7 separate regions of the Homo sapiens genome follow, and all the other regions are linked to region 3. Evidence: promoter capture Hi-C in 16 types of primary human blood cells and fetal thymus (Javierre and others, 2016). All regions are on one chromosome and are shown on one strand. The core of a region is centred on a gene start or on the middle of the fragment in contact, and the rest is flanking DNA. Distances in the headings are between cores, read along the strand shown. Region 1 overlaps CAST (calpastatin). Region 2 overlaps CAST (calpastatin). Region 3 holds the start of GLRX (glutaredoxin). Region 4 overlaps CAST (calpastatin). Region 5 overlaps LOC101929710 (a long non-coding RNA gene). Region 6 has its middle 9.2 kb from the start of CAST. Region 7 overlaps LOC101929710 (a long non-coding RNA gene).

Region 1 (3,462 bases), core at 198-2,697, 880 kb before region 3:
GCTTTCGGTCACGCTCTGACATTCAGTGCGAGCAAAGAGCTCTATCTAATTCAGAATTGTCACCCAAAATGCCAAGACTATGCCTTTTGAGAAACATTAAGATGACATTTTTAAGTCAAGAGCGTCCATAGAGAAAAAATTAAATGCAATGTTCATGAAGACCTCCTGTAATTTTCTAGTAAGCAGATTGCTAATTCTATGTATCAGAAAAACTATGCGATATGTTCTTATGAGGTTAGACACACCAATGCTAAAACAGATATCCCAGATTCGTATGATCTCCAAATTGAGGGAATTATAAGGTATAATGAAAGAGGAGATACAAAGATATATATGAACATAGAAGAATATGGGTTATGGAGTTTTTATTTGAATAGGACTAATTAAGACAGTTCATATTTTGAGAAAAAGTAAATGTTTCCACCTAAGAAGTAGTGATCACTTAAAGTTAACTGTGATTATAAACAATGAATAGAAACATAAATACTCAGCTGATTTTCAGAAGTTATTCAAATGAAAAGAAAATGCTTTCTTTTTCTTTCTGGTTTCATTCTTTCAAACTGTTACTTTACGTACTAGCTTTTATGTTTTCATTGCAGTACAGATGTTATACTTAGTCAATTCTGCCAGAGAATAATCAAGGAACCAAAACTCCCCACTAATTCTATATAATCAACTACTCTCTGGCATTCGGACTCTTCTTTCAAAGCATCTGAACTGAACCACAGCCAATATTTATACTTGAATGTGCTGCTTCATAAACACTGTTTCACAGTCTACAAAGCATGCTGATTCGTAATAGACACCAGGAGTCCTTGCTGCACACACACGGGATCCCTAGTCAGCCTCATTGCTATAGGTGGCTTATTCCTTCTCCATCAGTCTACAGGTGTGGCCTTTCCTTGTTCAGCAAGATTTTGCTAAATTTCACTACTTCATTTTAATCCTATACTGCCTCCTAGAACCCAAGCAGCACACCCTCCCCAGCATATTCCCAACAACTCAATATTCCTTTTAGATACTGAAAAATCAGTGCACAAAAGTCGAATACATTCATCAGAAAGAAGCAATCTATATTAATATAAACTCTAGTGCTGATTAGGAAATAGACTTTCCCCTTTTGAACAGTAGATGCCACTCCTTGTTGAGCTTCCCTGCAATGCAGAGGTTTTTCCTCTGAAAAACATGTGAAACAGCAGGAACTTTCCAGAGCTGCTGATTAAGCATTTCTGTCATTCTGATGCATAGGTGGTTTCCTAGAAAACTAGAGAGGCCCCAAAGTCCCGATCCTTAGGGAAGCTGTCTAAACTCTCTGCCTCATTTTCTGAAGCTGTACAATGGGAATAAAGAACTTCCCCCTGCCTGTGTGTAAGTGGAGAATGCCGGGTCCCTAACCATACAGAAGAGAAAGTTAAATCTCTGTGAAAACACTTTGTATTCTTAAAAGATAGACACAAAGTAACCCTCAGTGATGTTATTCTACAACCGTCTCAGGTTGTGTAAAGGAAATGGAACCGAAACAGGTTACAACACTTGCCACGCCACACCCAGCATGTATCAGGTACGCAGAAAGGTCAGAGTGAGCTCACGCTCTAAAACGGAGGTCATCACAGGGTGGCGGCACGGCTGGGGAGGAGGAGATCTATCTCCAACCCTAGAGATAAAGGTGCCAAACCAAACTGACATAGCTGCTGCTTTCCTTCTTTTGGGCCACTTGTCTCGGGCCACTTGTCTCGGGCCACTTGTACCGGGCCACACAAATCCCTTGTTTTGTAACCCTACGCGTCCGGTCACCAGATACATTTCCCGGCGGAAGGGGCAGTAACAGTGTTACCGACAAGGAGGAGGAGTCGCCAAGAAACACAGTTAAACTCAGAACGCACGGTATCGCCAGGGTCGCGATAGTAGGAAAAGCGCACGTCCCGAGCCTGGGGAGTCCGCTGCAGGGACCAGGCCCCGGACACGCAGGGCAGGTAGCCGGGGGCACAGGCCCTAGACCCGGGAGCACGCGCGGCCTGGAGCAAAGCGGCGGAAGACAGTACTCACTCTGCGTGGACACCGGACCCCGCAGTCCTCGGCTTGGTTTTCAGGAGGTCTGCATTCCTAGCTGGGCTCGGCTCCCGCGGTTTCCGCTTGGAGCTCCAGCCCAGCTCTCTGAGTGCGACGGGGCGGGGCGGTCCCGGGAAGGCGACGCAGGATGCTCCCCGCCCCCCTGCCCGGCGGCCCCGCCCCGGGAGCCCGGGATGCGTGGGGAGGGAGGTCCCGCTCCGTGGACTCGTCATGCGCCTGGCATCTGGAGACTGGCTCACTCAATAACGCAGCCTGTGATGCGGACCACGTGCTGTGTGGGCTGCGCACCGCCGGCTGATTACAGGTTACCGCTCCCTCGGCTGTCACCCTGTGACTACCAGAATAAGGCAACGACGGTGGGTGCACTTCGCAAATATGCTCCCCCGAAGACCTCTTTTGAAACTATAAAGTGGATTAGTAATGACTACAACCAGGGATTTGCAAATGCAGTTAAAACTGTGTAATGGATTTCTTTAAAGAGTAGTTTAACAGTAAGAATTCTACCCGATTACTTTATATTATAGTATATTACAAACTTCAAAATTAGAATAGATTTGAAGCTATTGAATACAATATAAATTCATGAGTCTATACTGCTGTAAATAAATGAATGAATAAATAGAGGGGTTAAGCCACTCTTTCATATAGAAGGCCAACTAATAAATATTGAATGATAAGAGTTAGAGAAAATAATTATAAAAAATTTTAAAATAAATGAAAAGCCGTACACCAACCACATTAAAGGCTCTGAACCCTGAACTTGGGGTGTGAGTGAAGGAGGTAGTGTTGGTCACTGTTTGAGGAACACAGACCTCAGGACAGGTTGGACAGTGCTGTGTCGAGTCATGACAAATGATGGCCAGTGGCATGAAAAAGGTGAACTCATCCATACAGCTTTGTACCCCACCAGGCAGCCAAGGCAGTTAGGGCCCTCTGATGTACCTTTCAAGGTACTCCTCACAGCTACCTTATTTTTTTTGTCTTTTATTTCTGTCAAAAATCTAGTGAAATAAGAGCCCTTCCAACTTTAAGATTCTAACATTTCCAGAGCAGAAGACCCTGTCCTTATAATTTTTTTTTTTTTTTGAGGTGGGATTCTCGCTATGTGGCCCAGGCTGGAGTGCAGTCACGTGATCTCAGCTCACTGCAACCTCCACCTCCCAGGTTCAAGCAATACTCCTGCCTCAGCTTCCCGAGTAGCTGCGATTACAGGCATGCACCACCACACCTAGCTAATTTTTGTATTTTTAGTAGAGACAGGGTTTCACCATGTTGGCCAGGCTGGTCTCGAACTCCTGACCTGAAGTGATCCACCCACCTCAGCCTCCCAAAGTGCTGGGATTACAGGCATGAGCCATGCACCCGGACTTAGAATTCTTCTTGATATATAGC
Region 2 (3,255 bases), core at 149-2,648, 860 kb before region 3:
GTCCCCTCATCCTCCACCATCCGCCAGGTGAGATCTGATCACCCGCTGGCCTTAAGCAAGAATCCTATAGGTCACTTTTCCCAGAATCCGCCTTATCCCTGATGTTTCCTTTTAATTTTCCATCCAACGATCCCTGGCCCTGCTCCTAGCTAAAAATCCCCACTTTTCTTCATTATATTTGGAGCTAAATACTACCAAGGCCTTGAATAACTATAATAGAATGCAATATTTGAGAATGATGTACATGGAATTAGATTGTTAAAATTAAGGTTGGCTATGGAGTCAACTCTTGGAAAAACCAGCCACCCCTATAATTTCTCCCCTCTTACTGCAAAATTCCCTTGCAGTGGTCCCTACACCTATAGCAATGGTCTGGAATGAAGTCTGCCTTACTATTGTTTAACAAGTAACATGAATATTTTTTTCCTTACAGAACTTATCTCTTTTTGTGTAAGTAAACACTGACTTCATTTTTCATTGCTTTATCTGCTGTTCTTTACATAAATCTACATACATTGGAAGAAGAATCTACCATGCAGAATCTCCACATACTCAGCACCCTCTCAATCATAATCACAGTACAATGGAAACCTTCTATTACTCCACAAAAACAGCTTGGAAGAGAACTGATACTATCCCAGTCTCCAATCAGGACCTTGCCTCAGCCCCCATCCCTCTGGAAATATCAGCATTTCAGCCCTACTGACCCTCCACTTCTTCCTGCACCCCCCACACTGATGACAGGGAGCACCCAGCTTCCTCTACCTCTTTGCTTGCTGCTTCTTTGACTTGAGTTATCCTTCCCACTTTCTACATGTAGGCATTTATCAACACTTGATTTTAGTTTCTCTCTCTTCTCTCTCTACACTCTTTTCTTCAATAATTTTAACCAGGAATTTTGGTAGTGAGGGTTAGAGGCAGAGATGGAATTGGAGCTTGAGCAGTTTCAAAGGAATTGCTTTAAAACAGTTTATGATGAAGATTGAGCTAATATGTAGTCTAAAGAGGAGTCATGAAATAAAGAGTGAAAAAAAAAAGGAATAATCAAAAGATCTAAAGGACAAGGTCCTGGGAGAAGTGGGAAGAAATAGTATCAGTAACTGATCCCTCCAACCAAAGCCTCCCACAAGGTCCACTGACTCTGAAACTGCAGCTCTCTTAGTGTGCTCTACTGTATTCCCACAATATGGCAGAGTGAGTTGGTCAGGGGGGAAAAGGAGAGGTCATTTGAAAAAGAAAAAAAAATGAAAGAAAAAAGAAATAAAGAAATCAATGTTTATGTGTGCTACGCACCATGCTATGCACTCCACAAGAATTATTTCAGTGTTACTCAAAATGTGCTCAAAAGACCACTGGCATAAGAGAAGAATCACCTGGAGTGATTGGCAAAAATACTGATTCCTTGGGCCCACCTTAGATCTAAATCAGTCTCTGGAGATGGAGCCTAGGAGTCTGAATTTCTCATACCATCCCCAGGTGATTCTTAGGCACAAAAAGAGTTGATAATCACTGCATTATCTCATGCCATATCCTGAAAAATGAGAAACAGAGAGTTTTAAATTTGTTTTGGTACTAATACAATGCTCTACACATTTACTAAGCATTCTGTAATAATGATACTTGAAAATAAAAGACTATGATGTAAATTTGCCATGAGATTTTGCTCTCACAAATGAACTATTTTTATAATGTACAAGCCATTATGTATTTTGTTATGTGGAAAAATAATATTGACATTACGATAAGAATCATACATATTCAGTCCTTAGATAAGACAGATATCTTGCTATGGGTATGATTTCAGGTTATTGTCCCTTTTGAACCAGTCATCCCATTATTTTTGAGAAGCTAAGAAAGTCTGAAGAATAAAAAAAGTTAACTTTAAACATGTTATTTCTGGAATAATATTTAATCCATCTGTCCATGAGGTTTCTAGTGCTTATGATCTGTGCTGAAGTGAACTGAACATCCATTCAATTCCGTCAATATTTTGTTAGTATTTTACTCTGATTCCACAAGCAATAAAATATAATCTCTTCAGAGACAATTTGGTGGGACCTAAGATCTTAGGTAATTCAGCTCATAAATCTAAAATAAGATAATGAAGGGTATATTATTATTGTATGATATAATGTTGATATATTTATATATATATATTTATATATTCTCTCATAGAGGCAAAGTGTTCAGTTGTTTTTTTAATACCATTCCCTATCCAATGATACAACATTTTGTATATCACAGATTCTTAATTTAAAGGCACATTATTTTCATATTCTTTTTAAAAAGTACATCCTTAGCTTCTGATAAAACAGCTCATTGAATAGTGATGCATACGGTCTGGCATGGTGGCTCATGTCTGTAATCCCAGCACTTTGGGAGTCCAAGGTGGGCAGATCACCTGAGGTCAGGAGTTCGAGACTAGCCTGGGCAACATGGCGAAACCCTGTCTCTACTAAAAATATTTTTTAAAAAAGTTATTTGGGCGTGGTGGCATACACCTGTAGTCCCAGCTACTTGGGAGGCTAAGGCAGGAGAATCGCTTGAACCCAGGAGGCAGAGTTTGCAGTGAGCCAAGATTGCACCACTGCACTCCAGCCTGGGCAACAAAGTGAGACTCTATCTCAAAAAAAAAAAAAAAGATAGTGATGCAGAGGTCTTTAGTTCTAGCTATTGGCGTATGTTTCTGCATGTTGCATGTAGTTGGTTTTACAACAAAAGTGCTACTAAAGTTAATAAACTATCAAACTTCCCTCATTTTTTAATGGGAAGGTGCTGCAATATATAATCAACCAAAGAATTTGAGCCCTGCCCCATCCCATAGGTAGACATCAATACGAGACTCACCTTTATTGCCAAACAAGTTCTCTTTACTGAGCTAATAATAATAAAGTAACACCAATAATAATAATAACAATAACAGGAGGTAAGATTTATAGAGCACCTCATATGTCCCAGGCACTGTTCTAGACACTACATATGGATGGTCTGATTGTTCTTCACATTGACTCTTATGTAAGAACTATTAGTATCCTCATTTTACAGATAAGGAATGTGCCCTTAGTGAGGCAAAGTAACTTGCCTAAAGACACAGAGCTAGGAATTAGCAGAGCTGGGAATTAAATCCAGGCATTGGACCCTAAACCCTACACTCAGAATGTATCATATGCTGCTTCTATAGAAACCACAGATCAATAGCAGGTTAACTGAGTTGTGAGTGTGGCTCTTCAAAGCTTTCACAACAGATGAGAAAGA
Region 3 (3,424 bases), core at 574-3,073:
TCAGCAGAATGGTTGACAAGGTCAGATAACAACAAAATGAGAGAATGGAGGTGAGAAAGGTACAGACAGTAAATTTCATGAAAGGGCAGAGGCAGGAAAGCAGGAAATGGGGAGTGGTGGTGGTGGTGGTGGCTTTTAACTTGAACACAGTGGCAGGCTGAGGCACCAGGAAGGGAGGAGCCAACAACAGACCGGAGAAGAGAAAGGCTCTGAGTGAGTAGCAGGTGCAAGTCGTGTGGATAAACCTCAGGCTGAGGGAACTTAAGGCAACAGCCTGAGGGCCCTGAAACAGACCCTGGACCTCCTGGCAGGGGCCTCTGGAAGGAGCCTGGCCACAGGGTTCTGAGGTAAAAGAATGAAAAAAGAGAGGAGGCTCAGACTCTGTGGCAGAGCCTACTTTGGAGGGAAGTGGGAAGTGGGAAGTCCGGAGCCCTGACCACGTGAGGGGCCTCCCAGCCCTGCCACATCCTTTTCTCTGGACAGAGCTGTCACTTAGCTCCCCCTCCGTGACTCAGAATCTGGCTTTCTCATTTTGCCATTTTAATTCTAGTAACGATGAGAGTCACAGTAAAAAGCTGCTTCTGGGAGTGGATTTTCTTCCCTTCCCTTGATCGCAGTATGCTTGGGATTCCTCTTACGTGGCAGTCGTGGTGTCCAGCTCTGGCCTTGGCCCCGCCTCTTTGAAGATACTCTGGTTTCACCATAAAACTTCCTGGGGAAAGGATGATTCACGTTTAAAGGACATAGTTTTTCCTTGATTTGTTTATTTAAGCTACCATACACTAGAGGGGGCCGGAACTAGACCCAGGAGTAGAGGACTTTGCTTTGCGGGATAAGGAGAATGGGCACCCTGGGGAAGAGCGAAAGATTTCCTACTGTTACAACCCGTGTCTTATAACACTTGAAGTGAATGTGGTGTCTGAGTTACAACACTACTTCCCCTCACAAACAGTTAAAAGCAGAGGGTCACAAACATAGGCTCAACCAGAAAAAAAGATTCTCATTTCATCTGTAGTTTTGTATCAAGGATTGTGTTGGAATTTGCCTCCATATTAAACTGCTGTTCAAGGGTTACCAACTCAAATGGTTATGGGGTGAAGCCGGTGTCTCAGGCATGGGCCTGTCGTTGGGACCTGTGGCAAACCAAAGCCACTACTTGCCCTATACAAAGGGGGCAACAGCTGTCAGCCCCAGCAGCTTCCACTAAAAGGTGCAAGCTCTGTATTGCCCGACCTGACTTTTCAGAGAGAAGTTTTAAGTCCGAATTGTTTTGTGAGACCTCCAGATTTTTAAATACTGAGAATGAATTCCATTAAAAAGATCACAACAACAAACACCCACCATACAGTCCAAGCAAAATGCTGTGAGAGCAACCTTCATGAGGAGTGCAAAGTCACAGTTTCAATTTCACTTCTTCTAAAGAGATTTCCAAGTGTTCTGTTTCTTAAGTGATTCTGTTTGCATTTTAAAATACAACTGTATCTCCTAGAGGGAAAACAAGAATTTGCTCTAAGAAGTCACTGCCTCCTCAGCCCCTTTGTGAGTAAGCACTTTATGCTTCCCCAGAGGTGACTAAACTCTGATCATTGCCAATGGGCAGGCACTCCCCAAATGTCCAAGGACAACAAAGATACCCAGAGTGTCTTTCATAGCTACCAATGATTAAATAGCAAGTATTGCATTCCTGGGCATTGCTAACTAGTGAAGTATACCAGATGGAAATGTCTTCGAAGCTGTCCCTTTAAAACTCGAGCAAGCTACCAGGCAAACTCCGCCTCCAGGGAGGTTCCTTATTAAATAGGAGCCAACTGGCTGGGTCGGGGCTCAATACCCCAAGCAATACCTGCAACTGAGGATTCTTCCCGGGGAGACCGCAGCCCATCGGCATGGCTCAAGAGTTTGTGAACTGCAAAATCCAGCCTGGGAAGGTGGTTGTGTTCATCAAGCCCACCTGCCCGTACTGCAGGAGGGCCCAAGAGATCCTCAGTCAATTGCCCATCAAACAAGGGCTTCTGGAATTTGTCGATATCACAGCCACCAACCACACTAACGAGATTCAAGATTATTTGCAACAGCTCACGGGAGCAAGAACGGTGAGTTTCATTTTAAACGGCTAGGGAAAGGCTCCCGGATTGCCTTTTCTTGTCAGAGCTGTGCCTTTCTTTAGGATAAGGCTGCGGCTCCGTACTTCAAGGCGTCCAGAGGGCTGTGCGGGGCGGGGGGTGTGGGGGAGGGCGCCTTAGAGAGGATCTCGGTCACTTGAATGAGCGGCGGCACTGCAGCCAAAGGTCTTCACGGGGCAGAAGAGGGAGTACAGCTGATGTCTGCTGTGCGGCAGGGTAAGTGGGACCAGCAGCTTGCCGGTGAGTCCCTGGGGAATTATCTAGAGTCTTTGTTTTAAGCACTGCCAGGAAATGACAGTTTTCAGTTGGCAGGGCTGGAGGTGGAAGCTGGGGTGGAGGGCCGGGTGTGATGTGTTTGTTATTTAACATGAGATTCATGTTCTTCATTCTTTTCTCTAGGCTTTCTTTTTCTAATTTGCTCATTCTTCCTTATCTAATTCCTCCCACTGGAAAAATCTAATGTACCGTTATCTGCCCCTTGTTCTAAATTAATTATGGATGTTTCCAGGCCCCACATTGTAGGGAATCATAGCCTGGAGTTCTGGCCTGGCTCTTATAATGGCTGGCTGTGTGATCCTGGGCAAGTCACCACCCCAGTAGTCCTCAAAGATCCCAGCTGCAAGACCAGATTAGGTGACCTCAGAGTCCCATTTGCTACGAATAGACTGTGGGACCCTCTAAAAATTGCTCTCCTCCATCCGAAAGACTTCCCTCTCTTCAGCATCCTTGGCTTTGCGTCCTGGGCTTCAGGAGGGATGCCAGCCACATCACCTGTATCAGTTCTGCTGTGAGGTGGGATGAGAAATGTCCCACCAGCTCAGCTAAGTTCTCTTTTACGATGCACGAATTCTACAGCACAGTGTTAGGCCAAGCACATATCCTATTTCAGTTTTAGTTTGACTTACAAGGTTGTCTCTGGGTTCTGAGTATAAAGCATTGGAGGTTGTTTCTCTCCCCTTCTCTCTAATAAGAAGTCAGCATTTTGGTGCAGAAAGGGGGCTTAGTGTGTTATCCTACTGCTGTGTGCTGAGGTCCTGGAGTATACACAATGACGAGAGAAGCTCTTGCTGCCTAGTGGGACCACCAGCTGCATAGGATGCCCAGGCCCTGAGAGGTGTAAAGGGCAGTGCAAACACTACTACGGGCCCCACTGTGGCTGCCACCCTGAGGACCTTTTAGCCATTGGTTCCCAAACTTTGCTGCACATTAGGATCACCTAGAGAGCTTTTAAAACAATCCTTATGCCCAAATTATGCCCCTCAATAACTAAATCACAATGTCAGAGGTGGGAGCCAAGCATT
Region 4 (3,477 bases), core at 546-3,045, 850 kb before region 3:
ACGAAAAATAACAAAACATGAAAACTTCCTATTCTAAAACTTGTTTTATAAATGAACTGAACACACAATACTGTCCTGTATTGGCAGCTAGAGAGGAGGCCAAAGACAGGAAGAGCAGGACAGGATGCCATAGTAAAGAATTTCACTGGAAGGACAAGGCCATAGAAGACAGGAGACTAGATGGGGGCTAAGATGAAGGTGGTATGTGCTCCAGAAGCTCAGAGCCAGAGAAAAAAATCAGATCAAGGGCTTTGCTATCTTAACTCAAGAAGGAATAATTTTCCAAACTGTTTTCACCCCCTTTATCACATAGTTGGCAACTACAACTGTCGTTTGTCCTCATTCTAGGTGACAGCCTCTATACGTTTAAAATCTGCCATAGCAAACCCATAAATCTGAAAAAAATCAATAAGAGCTAAGTGCAATAAGGCTCAGAGCCTGAGCTCTCACCCAGCTAAGGGCTTCTGCCAGGGCAAGGTTCAACTCTGCCACATTTGGGCACCTGCCCTGTTGTTACCCAGATACACACAGATACATAGACAGCCAAGGGAACATGTCACACAAAACAAGATAAAAATCAAAGAAACTAGGCCGGGCACAGTGGCTCACGCCTGTAATCCCAACACTTTGGGAGGCCGAGGTGGGCAGATCAGGAGATCAGGAGTTCGAGACCAGCCTGGCCAATATGGTAAAACCCTGTCTCTACTAAAAATACAAAAATTAGCTGGGCATGGTGGTGCACACCTGTAGTCCCAGCTACTCCGGAGGCTGAGGCAGGAGAATTACTTGAACCCAGGAGGTGGAGGTTGCAGCGAGCTGAGATCGTGCCATTGCACTCCAGCCTGAGTAACGAGCAAAACTCCATCACAAAAAAAAGAAAAAAAAATCAAAGAAACTTCTTCACATATAAAAGAAGCAAGAAGACAGAAAAGCAGCCCTTGCCAGCATTAAGTCCAGCTGTGAAAAGAGTATGAAATGCTAGTGTGCTTCTGAAATGCCTTTGCTTTATTATTATTATTTTTTAAAGTATGAGGCTTCTTTTAGGAGGAAAGGAAAACATTCTAAAGTAAAATTGTGCTGATGGTTGTGACCACCCTGTGACTATACTAAAACATATTGTATCATATGTCTTGGTGGGTGATTTATTTGAAAACTTAAACATTTTCCTTCTTCAATGTGGCGACAATTTCATCGAGATAGTATTTGCATGTCCAGGGACAGCTGTGGAAAAATCATGGAGCAATAAAAGGTTATCTTGATACCCTCTGGACTCTCCGAGCTCATGGAACTCAGCTCTCTACCATCACACACACTGAGAAAGGCTTCTACCAGGGGCTCCTGAGGATCACAAAGACTTCAGGTTAGCAGTGGGTCCCATCCTTCAGTGCCTGTCACAAGCACCTGGGAAGCTTTTAGAAACATTTGTGTCAGGGCACAGGGATTTAGATTTAGTTTGAATAGAATGGGGCCTTGCCATGGATAAATTTTTCTAAAGTTCCCCAGATGATTCCAATATACAGCCAGGATTGAGAACCACTGGTTTTGGGGGAAGATTTATGGGCACCATGATAGGAAGCGGAAGTTTCCGCTCCTCAAACCATCCCACTGAGTCGGCACCCATGGGGAGGTTCCCAGGGTCAGGCAGACTGGGGTGGCTCTGGGCTCCTCCTGGGTAAACTCTGATTGGTCAGTGAAGCAGCACAGTGCCCTATGTCTACACCAGTGTTTCCTGTCAAATTCTGAGCTTTGCCCTATTAATGGAGTATCATATTTTCATATTTGCACATTAATCTCTATTTTCTCAGTAAATCAAACAAATTAGCACTTTATTGTACACTCTCTTGCTTACTGATTACTTTATAAACTTACATCTTGCCTTCCTAATCACAGGGTAAGTTATATCCTTTTTTTCCTAGATGTGTGGTAGGACCATAACAAAGAATTCTTGATTGAATGACCATGTTCCCACAAACCTATAAACATTCCCTGAGAAGTAATTTTGCTCTTTTCAGATCAGTAAACTAGACAAAAGAGAAAGAGGCCAAGAAGGTAGCTTGAAAAATTAAGAGACAATGTGCAAATTGGTATTTCCCACAAAAATGCCTTAAAATATATTTGTATATGTATTCTACTTGCTAAAGCAAAATTATTCAGCAAACAAGCAGATGGACCAAAGCTTCTGTAAAGCTGGTTTTGCTTCAGAACAGTCTCCCTGGGTGCAGATCCTAGAACTGTCTGCCTTCAGGTGGATTCCTTGTTCCACTTCTGCTGTGTTCAAATTGTAGTGGAACTTTGCTGGCTGCAATTCTCTTGATGGATGGCCTCAAGTTGGGTTTAGCCAACAGCAGGCGCTGCCAGGAGACTAGAGGTGGTGGGTGGGTGGTATTCCCTTTGCCCCACCCCCTCCTCCAGTAGCACCTCCTGCAGGATGGGTTGGCTGTGGTTCCAGCTTCTGCAAGGTGACCCTTGTCCTCCCTGTGTCCCTCTAGACTAGGGATGGTAGCAGCTTCCTGCAATTTCTAATCTCTGGGTTGCCTCACCCTCCCCTGACGGCTTCCCAGCCTTTTTTTTTTTTACCTGGGTAACCAATTCCCTATGTTACACTCCCTTTGTTTTAAATACTCAGAGTCATTTCTGTCTGTTAGTTGACTGCAATAAACTCTGATAGGGCAGAAACAGCCTAGATTTGTAAGGCTATATGACCGTGACCTTGGGCAGATAATTTAATTTTTCAGTTTCTTTTTGTAAAATAGGGCTAATGGTATCTATCCCAGGGGCTGGCAAATTTATGAAAAGAGTTGACATTAGTGAGGCACCTGGTTCATTGCCTTGTTCATTTTAAGAACACAATTAAAATTATTTCACTCCCTTCTTTTTCCCTGGCAATCTGACTGTGGTGAATTAGAAGCCAGTGAGTTAAGGTTTGAGGGTTTCATTTTCTAAGGCTGTAAACATTAGAACAGAAGAATTTAGTATTTTACTTTCCCTAAAGTACAAAGGAACCTTATCAGGTTCATCTGATTAAGTTTTTGTTTAGTACTTTGTCTATCTCATGACTGTGTATTATATATTATTCTCACATCTTCGTATAACACTCAAGGAGATAAACTACATGGGGGTTAAAGAATTCATTTTCCCAACAAACTACAGCAATTTGGTTACAAGGATGACTTATATTTGCAATTCCCATGCTTTAAAACATGTTGAAAGGGTGTGTGTGTGTGTGTGTGTGTGCACGCGTGTCTGTGCTGGTAGCTGTGACGGTTAACAGATAAAACAAGATTAGGACAATGTTGACAATTATTGACACCAATGATTGGTATATGAAGAGGTCATTATACTTATTTATTTATTTATTCATTTATTTATTGAGACGGAGTCTTGCTCTGTCGCCCGGGCTGGAGTGCAGTGGTGCAATCTCGGCTTACTGCAAGCTCCGCCTCGCGGGTTCACGCCATTCTCCTGCCTCAGCCTCCT
Region 5 (3,432 bases), core at 690-3,189, 510 kb before region 3:
TGAAAGACTTCCTTTTTTTTCTCTCTTGATTGAAAATAGAAAAGGGGAAACCAGGCTAAAAGGGGTTTGGGTCAGAGCTTAATGGCATATTAGGGTGTCTATGGGTGTGTGTGTGTGGTTGTGTGATTCATTTCCACTCTCATGTCAGAAGAGACCCTTGGAATCAGAGTAAGTTTTACTTTGTTTTAGCTCAGTTTCGCTTTCAGGGTTCTATGATATCAGGGTTAAATTCATCCATTTAAATTGCAAGCCCAAATGTTTTCCAAGTGTCTTTTTTTCAAATATGTTTCATCTAACATTGTAAAGATCAAACGTAAACTCCTAGCTTCTGCAAAACAGCTCTTACCCCAGGGTCTTCCATATTAAATATTTACTGAATTAATGAAACTCTTCCCAGTTTTACTCCTAAAACATACTTTCTGGTGATTCACAGTTTTGAAGTGTGATCTTCTACTACTTGATTAACAGACATGAAATCTAAGTCCTCAGATATTAAAGGAAGAACCGGGACTAAAAGTCACATCTCCTGACTCCAAATTGAGTGTTTTGAGGTCCATCACATGCTTTACCCCAAATCTCTATTCCCAAAGTAAATTAAAAATGTGTGACTCAGAATTAGACATCTGGAAAAGCATTTTGGGGACAAAGAACAGTAATAGTAAATGTCTACAGCAAAACCTCACAAGAAACTGCAGAATGCCTTAACACTGTGGGTTTGATGTGCTCCTTCCAATGGGAACCTCTAGAGGGCAGTCCACTCTTCATAACAGACAAGTTCTGCCGGGTTTACAAGAACTCTGGGAGCGAAAAATCTAAAATGTTTGGCATACTTTCTAACAGCTTTCAATCAAACAGGGCACACAAATATCTCAGGCCCAGTCCAATTTTTGGCTGCGTTGGAGAAGAACGCGACTTAACTATGTATTTAGCTATGGGTTTTTTCTCTTTTTCCCTCTCTCCCTAAGCATGAAGGCTCTAATGTTTAATATGAAATGAACTTGAAACTTCCCTTATAATACTAACCTAATACACTGGAGTAAAACATATTTATTGGTAAATGTGCAAGTAAAGAACAGAAAGAGAACAGAAGACTTGCAGAGAACTACTGCCGGTTGAGAGTTGGAGTCAAAATAGGGGGCAGCGGGTGGTAGGAGCTAAGGTTTAAGAGATAGACAAGGGACAGCCCCAGGAAAGGAGGTTGAATTTCCTTGTGTAGATTCAGAATGACTTTAGCAAGAGAAGGACTGGGTCAGATTACTGTTTTGTATATGAATCATTCAGGTAGCTCTGGAGAGAGAATGGAGTGGGCCAGGTCTAGAAACCAGGAAGCCAATTGAGAGACTGTTATATTGGTCCAGTTAAAAGAAGGTGCATTTGAGATAGGGTAGTGGTGGTAGGAGTGGAGTTGAGAGGATGGGTTTGAGAAATGCATAGGAGGGGAAAACATCAGGATGTAATGATCAGTTGGATAAAGGGAGTGAGGAGAAGAAAAAAGTCAAGGCAGACATTTTATAACTTTTGTCACTGGGTAAAGAGAAGGTAACAGAACAAATAGAGGTTTAGGTTGGAGGGAAGTGATACATGTAGCTTTTGAGCAATTGAATCCGAAATGTCTGAAGAGTGCCCAAGAAAAGCTGCCTAGCAGGTGATGGAATTGGTGAGCCTAAAGCTTGGGGGAGAAATTGGAGATGGAGATTGAACTAGACAGTCATTACTATACAGATGGTAGCTGAAATCCTGAGTGTAGAAAAATCCACCCAAGAAGAGTATCAGTAATGAGAAGAGCGGTAGGCTAAAACAGAAAGGTAGGTAACCCCAGCATGTGGGTGGTAGATGGAGGGAGAGGAGACCATGGTTGGGAAAGAACAGAAACAAATGAGGCAAGCTGAGAGAATATAATATGACTATCATAGAGAGTGAGTGGTGCACACAAGCAACATGGCCAAATGCCCCAGAAACATACAGTGAGACAAAGATTGGAAAATGTCCACTGAATTTTCCAGCTACAATATGGGTGGCCTTACCAAAAGCAGAAGCCAGATTGCAGGGGATGCAGAGTGAATGGCACATGAAGTGGTCACACTGAGTATAGGTAACTCTTTAAAGATGTTTGGATGAAATAGAAGAAGAGATAGGACATCACTAAGAGGACATGGGGGTCAAAGGTAGACTTCTTTTTTAATGAATGGGAAGGAGATGAGTAAGCTTGTAGTCTGAAGAGGACATACCCCTGCAAGAGGAAAGGTGGATGTTTCAAGAGGGAGGATGGCTGTGGAACCTGGTCTTGGCATGTGTAACTGGGGTCGGCCTTGAACAAAAGGAGACAATGCATCTTCTGAAATTGGAGGACGATAATGCAGGGTGTGAGTGGAGCTCTGTTCCTAGGCATGGGTGAGGCAAGAAATGGAAGGCGCTCATGCTCATTTGCCTCTATAGCAGGATAATGAATTTAGATATCATTTTTGATATTGCATTTATACTGTAGCAGAGTCTCCAGTGGATGAACAAGTCAGCCCTTGTATTGTGCGCTCCTGATCTTGCCTCCAAGGGTAAGGATCACTTTTGTGCTTCTAGGTGAAAAACGAGTTTCTGGGACACTGAGGTAGCAGCTCCATCCTAGGCTTTTGTTTGAAGTGGTTATTTAATTGGGATTCTGCAAATAGTCACTACTATGCCTACTGTGTGGCTATATTCATACCTGAGGAAGTGGCATTGTAGTTGAAGGAAGTGAGTGACAGGACCGTGGGGGTGACTTTTCTGGAACAGAGAAAGGGGCCAGTGGCAGAAAGTTGTGCAGCAGGCTGAAAACCAGGCCCTTCCAATACAGTTCCCTGAAGATGGCAGAACCTCCGATGGTGTGGCTTATAGATGTGCAGGGTCCTGAGTTTCCCAGTAGTGAGAACCAGGCCACCTCACCCAAGTTGCACTAGGGGTGGAGGTGGGTGGGTGGGCTTAGGAATAGAACCTCCAGCCTTTAAATGGACCTTTCTGGCCCAGCCAATAAACAACTAAGCAGTGACTGTGATAGGCTAGAGAAAAGAGGTCTCTCCTAGAATTTTCTGCACTGAGCAATCCTCCAAGGATGCCTGACTGCCTCTGGAGAGCAGAACCTCCAATAATGACTGCTACTGACCCTTGCCACACTCTGGAGGGAGAATTTCAAACTTGAATTAACAATGAACAACAACAAAACTGTGCTATATGACATTTCTTGCACCTGAGTATTATAAAGAAACTTCAGCCCTAATACAACTCAATTTTCTGAACAAAGTAGGTAGCAAGTTTGCTAATAGTGAGGAGCATATGAAATGGGTGTTGAAGTGAGGGTCTGAGACCCATAAAAATATTTTTAAAATATAGAGTCTTGGACTTACGAACTCAAAGAATGTTGATGTTGGAAGGGACCTGCTGCTTGCTCCAGTTGAAGCTGCA
Region 6 (3,251 bases), core at 465-2,964, 830 kb before region 3:
TTCTCTTCTTGTGTGCTCAGCTTCCACTTCCAAATGTATTGCAATATTCTTGAAAATCCAGATGCCCCTTTTTTGTTTTTTCTTACTTTTCATTTTCCAATTTTGATATAACAGCAAGTTATTAATGAACTTACTCTTGATAACATCTGAGTGTAGTCAAGTAAAAGCTTATGCTGTGTATGTCTAGAAGATATTTGTGTTATATTTTACTTCCTTCAAACCACTGAAAACTCTGCAAATATTACTTCTCAGATTAAAATATAACATCGGAGAAAAAGAGAGTGCTTTGTTTTTGAAACTGGTAATATACAGTAGCTATGCACACTACACGTGAGGTTTTTTTGCTTTCATTATGTACTCCACAGTTTGGTTTTCTTAAGAAAAAGATATAGGAAGCATAAATGAGGAAAGTAGTGAAAGTGAAAGAAAGGTAAGAAAAAGAATTGAAAAAAGAAAATGGGCCGGGTGCGGTGGCTCACATCTGTAATCCCAGCACTTTGGGAGGCTGAGGCAGACAAATCAAAAGGTCAGGAGTTTGAGACCAGCTTGGCCAATATGGTGAAATCCTGTCTCTACTAAAAATACAAAAAAATTTAGCCAGGCATGGTGGTGCACACCTGTAATCCCAGCTACTTGGGAGGCTGAGGCAGGATAATTCCTTGAATCCGGGAGGCGCAGGTTGCAGTGAGCTGAGATCGCACCACTGCACTCCAGCTGGGCAACAGAGTGAGACTCCGTCTCAAAAAAAAAAAAAAAGAAAAGAAAAGAAAACGATAAGGAGAAAGGAGAGATACAAGGGAAGAGAAAAGAGAGAGGGGAAGAAGAAGAAAAAGGAAAAAAGGATAGTTAAGCAACAAGAATGAAAAAGGGGAAATTAAGTAGTATTTTTAAGGGGAAACAACAAATATTAGACTAAAACTACCACTAGAAAAATACAGAATAAGACTCATAGTTATTTATTTATTTATTTTGCTTTTCAGTCTTTCAAATACTTAAAGATAATTATTTTGGCCCCCAAATTCTTTTTTCTTTTCTTTCTAAAGAAGCCAAAATGAAATATTCCTTCGTCTTCTAAATATTGGGTTAAGATACAAGATAAAGATCTGAGAGAAAAGAAGAAAAAGAAAAGAGCTTTTAAATAATTTTTATTTCATCTATGATTTACCTTTTGCTTACTCTAATCTAGGACTTTATATGCATTTTATAAACCTTCACAGCAATGTTACGAGGTTTTATTTGTACCCTTATTTTACAGAGAAGGAGATGGGTGTTTTAAGAAGGTAAGACTTCATCCACAGCTGGGAGGTGGCAGAGCCAGATTCCAAAGCCAGGTCTACTAACTACACTTCCTCTCCAAATTGTTGCCCTTTCTGGAGCAACAACTCAATTGTTCTCTTTTAATCATCTGTTTTTCTAGGTCTCCCAGAACTCTCTAGATGAGACAGCATTTATTTATTATGAATTTATTATGCAGTTGACTTTGAGGAAAAAAATGTGATTAAAAACACATGTCTGGCATAACTTCAATACCAGGTGGGGTCTAGCCCTGCCCCAAGGCAATGAATCTGGACTGGTTTGCCTACTCAGACACAGAGACTCCCTGTGAGGTCTGATCCCACCCTGAGGATATAGGATAACTGTGGCACAGAGTAGATGTGTCCCTGGAGCCTGTGAGAAAATATGAAGGCAATCACTAAACTATGGAATAACTGCCATTAATTTGGGAGATAATGGCTGTGGGAAACTCAGGCTCAACAGGGACCCTGATGGGTCTCAAGGATTAGGAGACATCCTTCAAGCACTGTGCTCAAGCCAAACCAGTTCCTCACAGCAGGTGGGTAAGAGGGTGTGGTCTCAGTTGGTGCCTAGCTACCTCTCCCAAACCTGTTGTCTTGCAGAAAGGGATTATGGTTCCCGTGCAGTCTGTGCCCCTTCTGAAGTATGCAGTAGTCAGCCTCTGACTGTTGGAGTCCCTGTGACCACCAATTTCTGTCATGAGCTCTGTTTTTCCTGGGATACATCAGATATCACATCTTATATTTTGCATTGTGTCATTTTAATATAGGCAAGATGATCCCATGTGCAAATAACACATCCAAGGGAAATCTTAAAATGAACATATGGCACATATCTTACTCCCTGAGTGGGTTAGGCCAAATGCTGTGTGTCAGGAGGCTCTGTGACACAGAGCATTTAAGTGGAGGCTTCACAGAGGAGTCACCTAAACATAGGGTTTCCTCTCTGTAGGTGTGCTGTGAGCTGATTGGATGAGTGGCTAAATGTATAATTAGGTGCTGTGGGTTACTCAGCTAGTTTTTCTGTTTATGTTCCTCCTCCAGAGTTTTAATTGAGCACTATTTAGTACTTAGGCTAAAATGGTATTACACCAATTATCTTTGTTTAAAAAAATCCCCATGACCCATCAATTCTACATTTTTCCCTAACGTGTGTTATTTTTATACCATGAGTATTCTAATTATAGACTCCATGTAGGAAATCATTTGTAATTATCAAACAAAGCAAAGCCAATTATTACAACCTAGGTTGGAAGATACCTAAGGGTTGGTCTGGACCTCGTTTGCTATGAACCATCTCCTTAGAACCATCCCTGGGAGGTCCTCTGACGCTGCCCTAGTGGCCACTGCAGGAAGATCTGCTCTGGTGAAAAGCAGGGGTTTTGGATTCAATTGCATATGGATTTGAATCCCAGTTGTGGTCCTTAGCAGTAAGTGCTTAGGAAGTTTACCGAAGCTCTCTGAGACTCAGTATCTTTGTAACATGAGCCTACTAATATATACCTTGCAGGGCTGTTACTTTTAAAAACATGTCACAGGGAGATTCTGATTTAACACACAGATTAAATATGTGTGTCTTTATTCCTTCTCTCCCCTGAAACTTCACTGAGAGTAAATGAAATTAAAACAAATAGGAAAGCTCTAAACCTACAGGATAAATGGCACAGAACAGGAGACAATTACAAACATGATATATCAACACATTTTTGTAAAAGGTGTAATAGAAACCAAATTTTACAGAATGGAGAAAGCTACAGCCTGAGAGTCTGCTGGGGAGATACGGACAGAAGTGAGCAAGGTCTAATGCCAGTTTGAAAGCTCAGGGTTTGGAGGTGGGGCATGGGCTGAAAAGAGAGAGATGGGTGAAAATCTTTACAGATTGCAGTTAGAACCTCAGTCTCTTTCTTCCATTTCACACATCAAGGCAACTATCCCTTCCCAACCTCAGGTGAGATG
Region 7 (3,508 bases), core at 527-3,026, 790 kb before region 3:
TTTACACTTGCCCTAGTATAAGTCACTGAGTCTCAGTGGCATGGACCTGTTCTCGGGACCCCTCTTTCCCAGCAAATGCTTGAAGCAAGAACCATTAAATAATAGGACGGCTGATAATCTCCTGATTCCCTACTCACTACCATACACCTCCACCTGACCCCTCTTAGGCTCCCTGGCCTCCTTCCCTGGGGCCTGGCGTGGTGGAGCAGGTTGAATTCTCCCTCAATGTGCGTCTCAGCCAAGGACAGCCCACAGAATCCTTGTCTGTTTCATTCTCCCTGTTGCCATTGGCACATTAGCAAAGCAATCTGATAGACTGGACTATGTGAACACACTCTGGGAGACAGCCCTGTGCAGCAGCACAGACAGTGCTGACTGAGTCAATGGGAGAGATGGTTATGGCAGAGTAAGGGGAGAGGAGGAAGTGAGACCTGCCTAGGGACTGCCAAATGCCATCCTGTACAGCTGCTCTTTGGCTTACGATGGGATAAACTTACTGGAAATAGAAAATATTGTAAGTCAAAAATGCACTTAATACACCAAAGCTGCTGAACATCATAGTTTAGCCTAGCTTACCTTAAATATGCTCCAACAATTACAATAGCCTGTGGTTGGGCAAATCATCTAACACAAAGCCTGTTTTATAATAAAGTGCTGAATATCTCATGTAATGTATTGAATATTGTACTGAAATTGAAAAACAGAATTGAATTGCTGTATGGGTACTCCAAGTACAGCTTCTACTGAATGCATATGATTTCTGCACCATCGTAAAGTTCAAAAATCTTAAGTTGAACTATTGAAATTTGGGGGCTGCCTATACTAGGCTAAAGCCTACTCACAGCTCACTCAAGGCAGCGCTGAGGGCCTCCCCAGTGCCCAAATTATTGCTTTTAAGTAACTAAAAGGCAAGAGAATATAATGAACTCATTAGCCTTCTTAGTGACAGGTGCCTCATTTTACCAAGCTTAGGGTGGGAGCAGTACAAGATGATGGATCCTTTTCATAATTCAACTATATATATATATTCAGTTTTTAAAAAGAAAAAAAGCACTGAGGAAGAGGGGTAATCTGGCACCCCTGGGGAGAGGCTGGGCCTAGGCTTTGGATGGAGGTGGGTCCCTGGCATTATTCTTGGATTTCCTCTGAATCTTTGGACTCTGTTTCAGGTTTATCTGCCTGAATAGCTTCCCGTTCCCCACAGTGAATGAATCATTTCCTCTTCTAATCCCCTGCCAAACATTTCAAATCATGTTTCCTTTTCTTGGTTAAGTACCTAAATTGAACTCACTGTGATGAAAAAGCAACCCATGGAAAACAGTTTTCATTCTCATTTATAAGCCTCCTGCCATAAGGTTTTTGGGAGAAGCTCGTGGGCATGTCCCGGCTGGATGCTTTTGCTGAAAATCCCTTGTCAACACTGAGGCGCTGTAGTAGGTAAGATTGCACACAGCATCAGGAGTGAAAGGCCCTGATTCTGATTCACTTCACCGCAATAACCTAACGAGTCAGGCATTTGCCAACAGCTAACACTCCATCCAGAGGGAAATGGAATCATTTGAGACAAAATGATGAGCTTCTGCTGCCATCTGGTGGAGTTCTCACCTTTAATCATGTTAATTAAAGGGTTCCTCACCAGAAAATGCTGTAGAGTTAGTGGTGGTTCTGGAAGGGGTTCCTTGGACCGGCAGCATTTGTATTACCTGGTCACTTACTGCTGATGATATATTGTTAGTTACTTTATACCTTAGATTCCTTCATTACAAAATAGACATAAAACATCTAACTCATAGGGCTGTGAGGATACCCAGCCTCACAATGCAGATAAATGAACAACAATTTAAAAAACAGTATAAGGCACCCAGTATTAAATCTAACAAAAGATGTGCAATTATTTTAAAAAGTATAAAATTTCATTGAAAGACATTTGGGAATACCTAAATATTTGCAGGCTCCACCCCAGACCTACAGGATTAAGATGTACATTGTAATAGAAGTCCCAGGTTATTTGTATAGAGAATAAAGTTTGAGGTACTTAACGTTTTCTCCAGGGAGATAGGTAGTTACTATTGTTGTTGTTGTTTTGTGCCTTTGAATACCCTTAAGTTGTTTCATTTAAAAATGCTTTAAAGACAATCATCAGAAGACAGAGTATGGATTGGAGGTTAAGAACACAGAATTTGGGGTCAGATAGAACTTGTTTTGCATCCCGTCCCCATCACTGACTACTGATAACATGGTGAGTTACTTAATCTTTCTGGACCTTAGTTTCCTTAGCTAGAAAATGAACGTGAAAATATCTAACTCATAGGGTTGTGAAGACTTAAACAGAAAATACAGATAGCACAAATAGTAGTATTACAAAATCTGAAGTACCTAGTATTAAATCTAACAAAGGATGTGCAAATATGAAAAAAGTATGAAATTTCATTGAAAGACCTTCGAGAATACTTAAATGAAAGGAGAGATGAAACCATGTTCAAGGATAAGAAGAAAACTGTCATTCATCTTCAAATCCATCTATTCTAATGCAATTCAAATTATAACCTCAACTGGATTTTTATTGCTGAACTTGACAAGCTTATTTCAAAATTTGAATGGAAGAAAACAGCTAGGAATAGAAAATTCTGAAAGAGAAGAAGATGGAGAGGGTCACTCTACCAGATATCAAGACTTATTATAAAACTATAGTAGTTCAGGCAGTGTGCTATTGGCACAGTGATGGATGACTTGCCAGTGGAACAGAATAGAGAGTTCAGAAAGAGACTCATACATATTTGGAAATTGGATACATGAAGCAGTGGCATTACAAATCAATAGAACATGCATGGGCTAACTGATAAACATTAATTGGTTACCCACAGAGAAAAATTACATGTACTGTGTATTTACACATGTATATATGTGTGTATGTATGTATATATGTGTGTATATTTATTTAGACTTCTTGTTTATATCATACACAAAGATAAATTGTTACCCCGTTGATAAGAGATCTAAACATCTAAAGCAAAACTAAAATAAGTTTGAGGAAAATGCAGAAGAATTTTTGCATAATCTCAGTGTAAGAAAGAGCATATTAACAAAATCCAGTAAACCAAAATTATAAAGTAAAAGATTTGATATATTTGATTAGATTAAAACGTATTTATTTCTTTAAACCGGTACAAGTGCAGATTTCTCTGTTTTTGTTTTATTTTCTTCAAATTTTAGATTCAGCGGGTATGTATGCAGGTTTGTTACGTGGATATATTGTGAAATGCTGAGGTTTGGGCTTCTATTGAACCCAACACCCAGAGAGTGAACATAGTACCCAGTAAGTAGTTTTTCAACTCTTGCTCTCTTTCCTCCCTCCCTGTTTTGGAGTCCTTAGTGTTATTGTTCCCATCTTATGCCCACATGCATGCAATGTTTAGCTCTCACTTATAATGAGAATATGTGGTATTTGACTTTCTGTTTCTGTGTTAATTCATTTAGGATAATGTCCTCCTGCTGCATCCATGTTGCT

What was found. Contacts are between HindIII fragments. The CHiCAGO score rates a contact against its expected background, and 5 or more counts as called.
Region 1: a contact is called between a fragment that was not itself captured here and the fragment with the promoter of GLRX in region 3, in 4 of 17 cell types (naive CD8 T cells, non-activated CD4 T cells, erythroblasts and 1 more). The highest score is 10.1, in naive CD8 T cells.
Region 2: a fragment that was not itself captured here is called in contact with the fragment with the promoter of GLRX in region 3 in 2 of 17 cell types (total CD8 T cells and naive CD8 T cells); the score reaches 5.5 in total CD8 T cells.
Region 4: a contact is called between a fragment that was not itself captured here and the fragment with the promoter of GLRX in region 3, in 1 of 17 cell types (non-activated CD4 T cells). The highest score is 6.0, in non-activated CD4 T cells.
Region 5: a fragment that was not itself captured here is called in contact with the fragment with the promoter of GLRX in region 3 in 7 of 17 cell types (fetal thymus, naive CD8 T cells, total CD4 T cells and 4 more); the score reaches 8.8 in fetal thymus.
Region 6: a fragment that was not itself captured here is called in contact with the fragment with the promoter of GLRX in region 3 in 6 of 17 cell types (total CD8 T cells, monocytes, M2 macrophages and 3 more); the score reaches 7.3 in total CD8 T cells.
Region 7: a contact is called between a fragment that was not itself captured here and the fragment with the promoter of GLRX in region 3, in 3 of 17 cell types (monocytes, non-activated CD4 T cells and total CD4 T cells). The highest score is 5.7, in monocytes.

The regions. Positions count from the first base shown.
Region 1 is chr5:96,701,500-96,704,961 of GRCh38, reverse strand. The region is part of intron 3 of CAST (calpastatin); the gene reads right to left. Among named protein-coding and RNA genes, the nearest start is that of CAST, 41 kb to the right of the region's middle. RefSeq lists an enhancer at 1,418-1,917 and a silencer at 2,157-2,286. The HindIII fragment of the contact is 5,929 bases long and covers 1-3,462 here.
Region 2 is chr5:96,683,952-96,687,206 of GRCh38, reverse strand. All of the region lies in intron 2 of CAST (calpastatin), which reads right to left. Among named protein-coding and RNA genes, the nearest start is that of CAST, 23 kb to the right of the region's middle. The HindIII fragment of the contact is 3,675 bases long and covers 1-3,235 here.
Region 3 is chr5:95,821,125-95,824,548 of GRCh38, reverse strand. It overlaps GLRX (glutaredoxin), which reads left to right and starts at 1,823. Exons shown (of 3, transcript NM_001118890.2): 1 at 1,823-2,093. The coding sequence starts at 1,887. RefSeq lists enhancers at 575-1,075, 1,306-1,395, 3,312-3,424. The HindIII fragment of the contact is 7,969 bases long and covers 1-3,424 here.
Region 4 is chr5:96,667,908-96,671,384 of GRCh38, reverse strand. The region is part of intron 1 of CAST (calpastatin); the gene reads right to left. Among named protein-coding and RNA genes, the nearest start is that of CAST, 7.3 kb to the right of the region's middle. The HindIII fragment of the contact is 767 bases long and covers 1,412-2,178 here.
Region 5 is chr5:96,333,896-96,337,327 of GRCh38, reverse strand. All of the region lies in intron 3 of LOC101929710 (a long non-coding RNA gene), which reads right to left. The region is part of intron 1 of LOC107986365 (a long non-coding RNA gene); the gene reads right to left. It also overlaps a transcript of CAST not described here. Among named protein-coding and RNA genes, the nearest start is that of PCSK1, 98 kb to the left of the region's middle. The HindIII fragment of the contact is 536 bases long and covers 1,672-2,207 here.
Region 6 is chr5:96,651,533-96,654,783 of GRCh38, reverse strand. It overlaps a transcript of CAST not described here. Among named protein-coding and RNA genes, the nearest start is that of CAST, 9.2 kb to the left of the region's middle. The HindIII fragment of the contact is 3,089 bases long and covers 170-3,251 here.
Region 7 is chr5:96,612,279-96,615,786 of GRCh38, reverse strand. The region is part of intron 4 of LOC101929710 (a long non-coding RNA gene); the gene reads right to left. It also overlaps a transcript of CAST not described here. Among named protein-coding and RNA genes, the nearest start is that of CAST, 48 kb to the left of the region's middle. The HindIII fragment of the contact is 1,613 bases long and covers 970-2,582 here.